2 separate regions of the Homo sapiens genome follow, and region 1 is linked to region 2. The links are contacts of gene promoters, found by promoter capture Hi-C in human tissues and cell types (Jung and others, 2019). All regions are on one chromosome and are shown on one strand. Each heading gives the region's core, a stretch centred on a gene start or on the middle of the fragment in contact. The rest is flanking DNA. Distances are from core to core; before and after follow the strand shown. Region 1 overlaps HELQ (helicase, POLQ like). Region 2 holds the start of HPSE (heparanase).

Region 1 (5,484 bases), core at 2,489-4,988, 82 kb before region 2:
ACAAAAAATAAGAAAAATTAGCCAGGCGTGGTGGCACACGCCTGTGGTCCCAGCTACTTGGGTCTCACTCTGACGCCCAGGCTGGAGTGTAGTGGTGTAATCCAGGCTCACTGCAGCTTTGACCTCCAGAGCTCAGGCAGTCCTTCTGCCTCAGCCTCCTGAGTAGCTGGGATCACAGACATGTGCCACCACACCTGGCTAATTTTTTTTGTTTTTTTGAGATGGAGTCTCAGGCTGGAGTACAGTGGCGCAATCTTAGCTAACTGCAACCCCCGCCTCCCGAGTTCATGCAATTCTCCTGCCTCAACCTCTAGAGTAGCTGGGATTATAGTCACACAACACCACTCCCAGTTAACTTATGTATTTTTAGTAGAGATAGGGTTTCACCATATTGGCCAGGCTGATCTCGAACTCCGGACCTCAAGTGATCCACCTGCCTGGGCTTCGCAAAGTGTTGGGATTACAGGCATGAGCCACAGCGCCCAACCAATTTTTTAAATTTTTTTTGTGCAAAGGGTGGGCGGGGGTGGGGGGTCTCACTATGATGCCCAGCCTGGTCTTGAACTTCAGGCTGAAGCGATCCTCCAGGTTGCCCTTCCAAAGTGCTGGGATTACAGGCATGAGCCGCCACGCCTGGCCCATATTCTCTTGATTGCCACTGTAATTTAGTATATTTGCTTCCAGTGTCAGGCAGCTATTTAAAGCTTTTACATCAAATGTGTATTTTATAGAACAATTTAAGAAGGAAACCTTATACTGGTCATATGCATTTGTGATGGATTTAAGACTTTATTAAAATAAGCTTTCAGAATTCCTTTAAATAGCACAATAAAGCTTACCAGGCTTTTACATCCAGATACTTTTTTTATGTGTTTATAATATAAGCCATTTTTGCTGCATTTAGATTTCTTCTTATTGGGTGGCATAATAATCCTTTCCATATTTGTTTCCAAGTCAATTTTCTAAAACTTTTTTCCCATGAATTGTTTTCTAAATTTAAAATTTACTTCATTTTCCCTTTCTTAAACCTTCATATTCTGTATATGTATATGGCAATTAATTCTATCATATGTGCTAATGAAAGGAGTAAATAATTCAAAAATACTTGGCTTTCAATTGAATGATAATTATTTTAACAAATTTAGCTTTCTAAATATCTTTTACTTGTGCTGATTTTTAAATGTTGGTTTATACCCCCTGAGCACATGCTAGTTAAACAGAAGACAAAAATTATGGGTAATAAGAAGAAGCTAGCCTTTAAAATGTATTTTCTTAAGTCTTCTATATTTGTTGTTTTGTATATTTAAAGATGCTTTCCCTAATATTTTTTCCCTTTGTTTTCATTGCGACTATGAGGACTTGAGCCTTATAGAATTGTTTAAGTAAAAAACTCTATGAAGCATCAAGAAAAACAGCAATAATTTGATGACTAATCCTAAGAAAAATCTAGCTGACAATTTGTACTCTAATTAATTTACTTCATTTATATATATCATAATTATATAATTACATATAATATAAATATATAATTATATGATATATATTACATGTATATAATTTTTCAAATTATTATCAATAGAGGCAGGGATCTTGCTGTGTTGCCCAGGCTGGCCTCAAACTCCTGGACTCAAGCAGTCCTCCCACCTTGGCCTCCCAGAGTGCTGGGATTACAGGCATGAGCCACCACACCTGGTCTACTTTCAATATTTCAAGGCAGGGGTGTTCAATCTTTTGGCTTCCCTGGGCCACATTGGAAGAAGAATCGTCTTGAGCCACACATAAAATACACTAACAATAGCTTATGAGCTAGAAAAAAAAAAAAAAAAAAATCTCATGGTGTTGTAAGAAAGTTTACCAATTTGTTTTGGGTGACATTCAAAGCCATCCTGGGCCGCATGTGGCCTGTGGGCCACAGGTTGGACAAGCTTGTTTTAAGGTATTTTTTATTTTAAAAAGTTATAAATGGTATGAAATGGTACATTAATTGTGTTAGTTAAGATGCTTTTAACTACAAGTTACAGAAAAACCCATCAAGGTTTAAACAATAAGAAAAAATAATTATTTTATATAACAGGCATGCCAGAACTAAGGCAGCTTCAGGATTGATTGATTCAATAGTTCTGTTCAAGGTTTTCTTCTTTTTACTCTGCCATCTTCATTACGTTGATTTCTTTCTTAGTAGTCACAAGATGGCTAGCTAATGCTGTTCCATTCATCATGTACATTCACAGTGATATCCAAAGGCTAGAAAGGGAACTTTAAAATAAAATAAACTACTATAATAGAATATTGCAAATATCTATGACAAAATATTATATTGAATTCCCATTTACCCTTCTAGCTTTAACAGTTATTGACTCATGGCTTCCAGTATTTTTATTATTGTATTGTTGCATTGAACATCATGTTACATTTGAATATTTCCATATTTAATATTCATCTTCCAGATAAATTCCAGATGTAGGAATTGTTTTTAGTCACTTGGGAAAGAAAAACTATGCATTTTCTTCCAGGTATTTTGATTAAAATGACCAGAACTCTTTTTATTGACTTATTTTTCAATTTTCAATCTTTTCCTCATCCTAAAACCAGTTCCTCAAATTCCTCAGGGTCCTCCCCATGTTTCTTCACATCTGTTTTGCTTAGAATCATCTTTCATCTCTGGCTTAACTCAAGTTCCAGAACTTATGTAAGGAACATTCTCTCTGAGCCCCCTATCACACAAACCAAACTTTGAAATAACTTACAAAATTTAAATTTTATATATTTCTTTGTGTTCTACAGGAGCTTGAGGAGTTTTGGGTTTACAGAGCCCTTTTGGTAGAACTTACCAAGAAGCTGACTTACTGTGTAAAGGCAGAATTAATCCCTCTCATGGAAGTTACTGGAGTTTTAGAGGTCAGTAGCTTGTTGGTTTCCCAATTGAAATTATGTTGAATTAATACAGAAGCCAGGTTTTATTATTTTCTGAAGTCTTAATACAGAGGAAGTGATAGCAAGAGCCTTAATTGCTCATTTGTCATGGGAATCTTTTATTTAAAACAAATAGCTGTTATGGCCTTCCAGAAATCCGCTGTTACTAGATGGCATACCTGATGAAAAATCTCAGTTGTGAAAAAAAAAACATAACAGGAAGGGTGGGAGTGACTGTCTCCAAGTATGTTGTGCTACCGGTTGTCCTTAACACTTCTTCCTTCCTCCACTCCTTTGAAGAATTACCTTCTGTCAGTTTGGACTCAGTGCTTGTTTAAGATAATGGTGATTCAGTGGCAGAAAGGGTCATTTGTATTTTTTCTAAGAGAGTAAGAAGAAAGGGTTCGCAACTGGTTTTCCAGCTTTCTATTTTCAGCCAACCCTCAACTTCAGTTTATTCTCTGTTATTCAGTTCTTGAGTCAGAGGAGTTCTGCTTAGGACACACGCACACACACAGAGAGAGACACCAGTGGTCCCCTGAGTAGATGGTGAGAACACTGAAAGATATTGGACTTGGCCTGATGATGTGGCTCATGCTGCAATCACAGCACTTTGGGAGGCCAAGGTGGGTGGATCAATTGAGGTCAGGAGTTCAAAACCAACCTGGCCCACATGGTGAAACCCCATCTTTACTAAAAATACAAAAATTAGCCAAGTATGGTGTCGTGCGCCTGTAATCCCAGCTACTTGGGAGGCTGAGGCAAGAAAATTTTGTGAACGTGAGTGGTGCAGGTTGCCATAAGCCAAGATCGCACCATTGCACTCCAGCCTGGGCAACAGAGCAAGACTCTTTCTCAAAAAAAAAAAAAAGAAAAGAAAAGAAAAAGAAGAAAGAAAGAAAGATACTGGACTAGAACATTTTACTTGAGGATATGAGATGATGCCACCAACCTAAGTGGGTTTCTTTTCTTGATTGCAGCACACATCAGTTGACTCAAGCTGCATAGAACTATAGTTACCTTGTAGTCAGTTTGGAACCACCCAAATGCATTTTTAAAAATTCCTCAGTATTCTCATGTCTTGTCTCTTCATATTTACTTTATTTTATCCCAGTCTCTTACATGCAGTTTTTGTTCTTTTCAGTAAAGTGCTTAATTTTCTTTTTTCTAATCCCAAACTATTATCCTACTGATTTTTGTAACACTTTTCAGGGTCGAGCAAAACAGTTATACAGTGCAGGTTACAAAAGTCTAATGCACTTAGCTAATGCAAATCCTGAAGTGCTCGTAAGGACAATTGATCATTTATCAAGACGCCAAGCCAAGCAAATTGTTTCATCAGCAAAGGTAAGCAAACAAACCATTTTTTAACCTTAATAATCTTGCGTAGTGTTATTTCCTTGTATTATAGACATCAGAACAAAAACATTTCACATTGCATAACTGTTTATTTCTATAGATACAAAAGTACATACTCTTATTTGTGAGTAAAAATAATGCATCTGTTGTGACACAAGCCTTGCAAAACAAAAAAAGGACCTGCTAAAAAATAAAGAAAATTTCAGTGGTGGCTCATGCCTGTAATCCCAGCTCTTTGGAAGGTCAAGATGGGGAGGATGGCTTGAAATCAGGAGTTTGAGACCAGCCTGGGCAACATAATGAGACTCTGTTTCTGCAAAAAAATTTAAAAACTAACTGGGTGTGGTGGTTTGTGCTGTAGTTCTAGCTACTCCGGAGACTGAGGCAAGAGGATCGCTTGAGCCCAGGAGTTCAAGGCTGCACTGAGCTAGGATGACAGATTGAGACCCTGTCCCCCCGCCCCAAAAAAAATGCCAGGCATGGTGCCTCATGCCTGTAATCCCAGCACTTTGGGAGGCCGAGGCAGGTGGATTACCTGAGGTCAGGAGTTCGAGACCAGCCTGGCCAACATGGTGAAACCCCATCTCCACTAAAAATACAAAAATTTAGCCAGACTTGGTGGCACACGCCTATAATCCCAGCTACTCGGGAGGCTGAGGCAGGAGAATTGCTTGAGCCCAGGAGACGGAGATGGCAGTGAGCCGAGATCATACCACTGCACTCCAGCCTGGCTGACAGAGCGAGATTCTGTCTCAAAAAAAAAAAAAAAAATGGCTGGGTTCGGTGGCTCACACCTATAATCCCAGCACTTTGGGAGGCCAAGGCAGGTGGATCACTTGAAGCCAGGAATTTGAGACCAGCCTGGCCAACATGGTAAAACCCTGTCTCTACTAAAAGTATAAAAATTAGCCAGGCGTGGTGGCCCACACCTGTAGGCCCACACCTGTAATCCCAGCTACTCAGGAAGCTGAGGCATGAGAATCACTTGAACCCAGGAGGTGGAGGTTGTAGTGAGCCAAGATTATGCCACTGCACTCCAACCTGGGTGACAGAGTGAGAGTCTGTCTTAAAAAAAAAAAAAAGACAATTTCAAGGGTTCATTGAAGTATAAAGAACCCTGGAAGTCACTGAGCTCTGTCTCCCAAAGTTCTCTTCACAGGAATCCTTTCCTCAGCATCCCAGCATCTGGTCTCTCCACCTTTGAGCACCAGC
Region 2 (5,458 bases), core at 634-3,133:
TACAGTAATTGTAGGATATGAACCTGATTCTAGTTGCAAAACTCACTATGAGCTTAGCTTTTAAGTTGCTTAAGAATAGGTAGATCTATGCAAATAATGATAATTATTATTATTATTTTAAGAGAGGGTCTCACTTTGTCACCCAGGCTGGAGTGCAGTGGTGTGATTAAGGGTCACTGCAACCTCCACCTCCCAGGCTCAAATAAACCTCCCACCTCAGCCTCCCCAGTAGCTGGAACCACAGGCACGGGCCACCACGCCTGGCTAATTTTTTGTATTTTTTGTAGAGATGGGGTTTCATCATGTTGCCCAGGCTGTTCTTGAATTCCTCGGCTCAAGCAATCCTCCCACCTTGGCCTCCCAAAATGCTGGCATCACAGGCATGATGGCATCACTGGCATCACATACCATGCCTGGCCTGATTTATGCAAATTAGATATGCATTTCAAAATAATCTATTTTTATTTGTTGCCTTATTGGTGGTACAATCTCAAGTGGAAAAATCTAAGGGTTTTGGTGTTATTTGCTTACTCAACCAATATTTATTAGACTCTTACTAAGCACCAACATGATCACATGCCTGAGCTATGGCTAGCATAGCGTGTGAGACAAACTTAATCTCTGTTTTGGTGGAGCATATAATCTAGTAGATGAAGCCAATGTTGAGCAACATCACAATACTAACAAATTGAGGATGCTACGAGAGTGTCTAACAAATTGAGGATGCTACGAGAGTGTCTAACAAATTGAGGATGCTATGAGAGTGTGTCATGGAGAGCTGCCTGGAGATTGAGAGAAAGCTTCCTTGAGGGAAGTTACATTTCAGCTGAAACACACTGCCATCTGCTCGAGGTTTTGTAACTGCATTCACATCCCGATTCTGACACTTCACATCCCGATTCTGACACTTCACCCAGTTACTGTCTCAGAGCTTGGGTCCGCATGTGTAAAACAAGGACAGTATGCACTTGGCAGGGTTGTGAGAAGGGAAGAGAACACAAGTAAAGCACCTGTATCAGGCATACAGTAGGCACTAAGCGTGCGATGCTTGCTATGATTATACATCAGTGTAAGCATCAAGGAAAAGCTGAAGAAAAGTCTGACCAACAGCGAAAGATAAATGCGCAGAGGAGAAATTTGGCAAAGGCTCCAAATTCAGGGGCAGTCCGTACTCTACACTTTGTATGGGGGCTTCAGGTCCTGAGTTCCAGACATTGGAGCAACTAACCCTTTAAGATTGCTAAATATTGTCTTAATGAGAAGTTGATAAAGAATTTTGGGTGGTTGATCTCTTTCCAGCTGCAGTTTAGCGTATGCTGAGGCCAGATTTTTTCAAGCAAAAGTAAAATACCTGAGAAACTGCCTGGCCAGAGGACAATCAGATTTTGGCTGGCTCAAGTGACAAGCAAGTGTTTATAAGCTAGATGGGAGAGGAAGGGATGAATACTCCATTGGAGGTTTTACTCGAGGGTCAGAGGGATACCCGGCGCCATCAGAATGGGATCTGGGAGTCGGAAACGCTGGGTTCCCACGAGAGCGCGCAGAACACGTGCGTCAGGAAGCCTGGTCCGGGATGCCCAGCGCTGCTCCCCGGGCGCTCCTCCCCGGGCGCTCCTCCCCAGGCCTCCCGGGCGCTTGGATCCCGGCCATCTCCGCACCCTTCAAGTGGGTGTGGGTGATTTCGTAAGTGAACGTGACCGCCACCGAGGGGAAAGCGAGCAAGGAAGTAGGAGAGAGCCGGGCAGGCGGGGCGGGGTTGGATTGGGAGCAGTGGGAGGGATGCAGAAGAGGAGTGGGAGGGATGGAGGGCGCAGTGGGAGGGGTGAGGAGGCGTAACGGGGCGGAGGAAAGGAGAAAAGGGCGCTGGGGCTCGGCGGGAGGAAGTGCTAGAGCTCTCGACTCTCCGCTGCGCGGCAGCTGGCGGGGGGAGCAGCCAGGTGAGCCCAAGATGCTGCTGCGCTCGAAGCCTGCGCTGCCGCCGCCGCTGATGCTGCTGCTCCTGGGGCCGCTGGGTCCCCTCTCCCCTGGCGCCCTGCCCCGACCTGCGCAAGCACAGGACGTCGTGGACCTGGACTTCTTCACCCAGGAGCCGCTGCACCTGGTGAGCCCCTCGTTCCTGTCCGTCACCATTGACGCCAACCTGGCCACGGACCCGCGGTTCCTCATCCTCCTGGGGTAAGCGCCAGCCTCCTGGTCCTGTCCCCTTTCCTGTCCTCCTGACACCTATGTCTGCCCCGCCAGCCGCTCTCCTTCTTTTGCGCGGAAACAACTTCACACCGGAACCTCCCCGCCTGTCTCTCCCCACCCCACTTCCCGCCTCTCATTCTCCCTCTCCCTCCCTTACTCTCAGACCCCAAACTGCTTTTTGGGGGGTATCATTTAAAAAATAGATTTAGGGGTTACAAGTGCAGTTCTGTTCCATGGGTATATTGCATTGTGGTGGCATCTGGGCTCTTAGTGTAACTGTCACCCGAATGTTGTACATTGTATCTAATAGGTAATTTCTCATCCCTCATCCCTCTCCCACCCTCCCACCTTTTGGAGTCTCCAGTGTCTACTATTCCACTAAGTCCATGTGTACACATTGTTTAGCGCCCACTCTAAATGAGCCTTTTTGTTTCATTCATTCTGTAAGTGTTGAATAGGCACCACCTAAGGTCAGGTATAAGTGGAAATTTGAAAAAGAAACTGCCCACTTGCCCCAGTACTTCCCTAGCCAAGAGGAGGGAAACCAGGCAGGTGCACCTGAAGGCCTGTGAGTGCTTGATTTGCTGTGCAGTGTAGGACAAGTAAGATTGTGCATAGCCTTCTGTATTTAAGACTGTGTTAGGAAGATTTCTCTTTCTTTTCTTTTCTTTTTCTTTTTTCTTTTCTTTTTTTTTTTTTAGGCAGATGAAAAGGGCGTCACAGAACAGGAATAAAAATCTAAATATTCAATAAATGAGACCTAGGAGACTACTGCAGTGACTTACAAAGTCCTAATAAAAAGATGTCTCTCCAAAATGGGGCTGCAAAATGTGGTGCTGCCTTATCAGCTCTAAGTTTTTTCCTTACCTGAGAAAGAAGGAACCTGATGCAGGTTCAGGGCTCCTGCCCCATGAATGCAGGCTGACTCCAAGATGGGGAGCTACAGGGACAATCCCAGGTCTTCTAGGCCTCTTATTTAGGCCCTGGGAGCCTCCAGAGATGGCCACATCTTGACCAGCCCAGATAGAGGGAAAGATCACCATTATCTCACCTCTGTGTCAAATACCTAGATGCTGTCCTCCCTGAGCCCACACTATAGTTGCCAGCGCTAATTTAATGGGTAGTGTACTGGTTAAGAGATGGACAGACCATCCTGGCTTGACTCTCAGCTCTGGCAAAGATGAGTGACTTGGTTTTTCCATATCTCTTGGCCACACCAACCTTGATTTCTTCAGCTGTAGAATGGAATTTCTCAAGCTTGCCTCAAGGATTATTGCCCGAGGATTTGATGATATGGTAAGAGCTTCTCAGTGTTTGACCCATAGTAAGTGTTTGACGTTTCAAACGAATTGTTTCTTTCTAGGACATGGTGAGCATTTGGTAGCCATTCACCGGTTTTCTGTTTCTTTGGATCATAGTTAACCTCTCCTTTTCCTTCTGGCACTACAATTTTCTGGTGGGGAAGAATCCTTACTTTCTGCCCTTCCCCTTAAGGATAGGAAGCTGATACTAGGCAGCAACTAGTTGGGGGATAGGAAGATTGTTCCAGAGAAATGCTGAACCATAGGGCTCCAGATCACAGGACCCCAGTCTTAGCTTGCTGGGGTGTGGGGTGGGGGGGGGCGGTTACTGAACATGGGTATGAAGTAGATGTCCATTTACTGAAATGTGAGGACCTGAGGCCTCTTCTATTGCTGTAGCCAGCATATTCCCCAACCTCTCCCCAAGAAAGGACAGATGGGGGTTCCCCCCTGGAGTAACAGGTCCAAAAGAAAAAACATACAGTGGGACTTCCAGGATCTGGGCCTGATCACCCAGCAGTCAAGCTCCCCGCAATTGACTAACACCCCCCTAACACGTAGAAATTCCAATCTGCAATTTAGTGAGGATGATACCTTTATTCTTCTTAAATACATCTCTTCATTTCCCAGAGCACCCTTTTTTCCCCTCCTCTGCACCTTTTTGTTAAAGACTGGAGTATAATGAAATACCAAGAGAGCATAACATGTGATACATAAAACTTTTTTTCTGGTTTACAAAACAGTTCATTCTTGTCCATACGTGCTTCTCTCCAAGGCTGGCTGCTGTCTGTTCCAGCCCGCTTCGCTTGGAGAGGCCATCTGCCATACCTGCTCCCCAGACGCATCGACAAGCACACCCAGAGTGTTATCTGCTAAGACCTAAAAGAGGGAGGAACCCCCTCTCCTCATCTAAGACCTAGCTTCTAAATTAGAGTGTGAGGGTCCATCTCCCCAGGAGGGGCACAGGGCCCAAACAGCCCAGCCATCTCAGAAGACAACACTAAGCTTTGTAGGGGTCCACAGTAGAGGAGAGTAAGACGCCTGTTGTTTAATTTATTACAGTTCCTCAAAAGTGAAGATGTGTGGGCGGGATGGCAAGAGCTGAGCAGACGAAAGCTGAAGGAATAAGGAAAGAGAGGAGGACACAAACAGCTGACACTTCCTCAGTTCTTGTCATTTGCCTGGCCCTGTTCTAAGCACCTTCTAGGTATTAATCCATTTAGTCTTGGCTACAACACTGTGAGTGACTAGTTTTGTCACCCCCATTTTAAAAATGAAGAAAGTGAGGCTCAGGGAGGTTAAGTAACTTGGCCACAGTTTGAAACTAGACTCTGATCACATGAGATAATAGTGCCCATAAAAAGGGAAAGCAGATTATATTTTTTAAAGGAAAGAGAGTAGGATATGGTAGAAAAAGATTGTTTGGAAAGGAATTGAGAGATTGATATAATGAAAAGAAGCATTCACATGAGAGTAACAGTATCAGGGCCCAAACCTTCATCTAAGGTACTTCAAAGAGGCCTAAGCAAACTTAGTCACTGGCGTGGTTCTAGTCTCCATGATGGCAAATACATTGTGTACAGCCCAACTCCACACAAAACTTAAATACCAATGATAGAGCAATCTAAAATTTGAAAGAAAAAATCTTTCAATTTGTCGTCTTCCCAGAGGGACTTAATCAAGAAACCAATCAAAATACTTCCTAAGCCTAACTGTGTGCAGAACTCCAAAGAGAGCCCAGCCCTAAATCAACACTGTCCAATGGAAATATAATATAATGTGGGCCTCATATGCAAGGTCATATGTAATTTTAAATTTTCTAGTAGCCATATTAAAAAGGTAAAAAGAAACAAGTGAAATTAATTTTAATAATTTTATTTAGTTCAATAGATCCAAAATGTTTTCTCAGCATGTAATCAATATAAAAATATTAATGAGGTATTTATTATTCCTTTTCTCAAACCAAGTCT

The links. The method cuts DNA at HindIII sites, captures the fragments that hold promoters and counts their contacts. A contact is called where the count stands out against the background at its distance.
Region 1: a contact is called between a fragment that was not itself captured here and the fragment with the promoter of HPSE in region 2, in 2 of the 25 tissues and cell types used here (IMR-90 fibroblasts and adrenal gland).

What each region holds. Positions count from the first base shown.
Region 1 is chr4:83,415,507-83,420,990 of GRCh38, reverse strand. It overlaps HELQ (helicase, POLQ like), which reads left to right. Exons shown (of 18, transcript NM_133636.5): 16 at 2,785-2,898; 17 at 4,126-4,260. Among named protein-coding and RNA genes, the nearest start is that of HELQ, 38 kb to the left of the region's middle. The HindIII fragment of the contact is 4,716 bases long and covers 1,381-5,484 here.
Region 2 is chr4:83,331,273-83,336,730 of GRCh38, reverse strand. HPSE (heparanase) reads left to right here and starts at 1,883. Exons shown (of 12, transcript NM_001098540.3): 1 at 1,883-2,175. The coding sequence starts at 1,949. The HindIII fragment of the contact is 4,578 bases long and covers 1-3,969 here.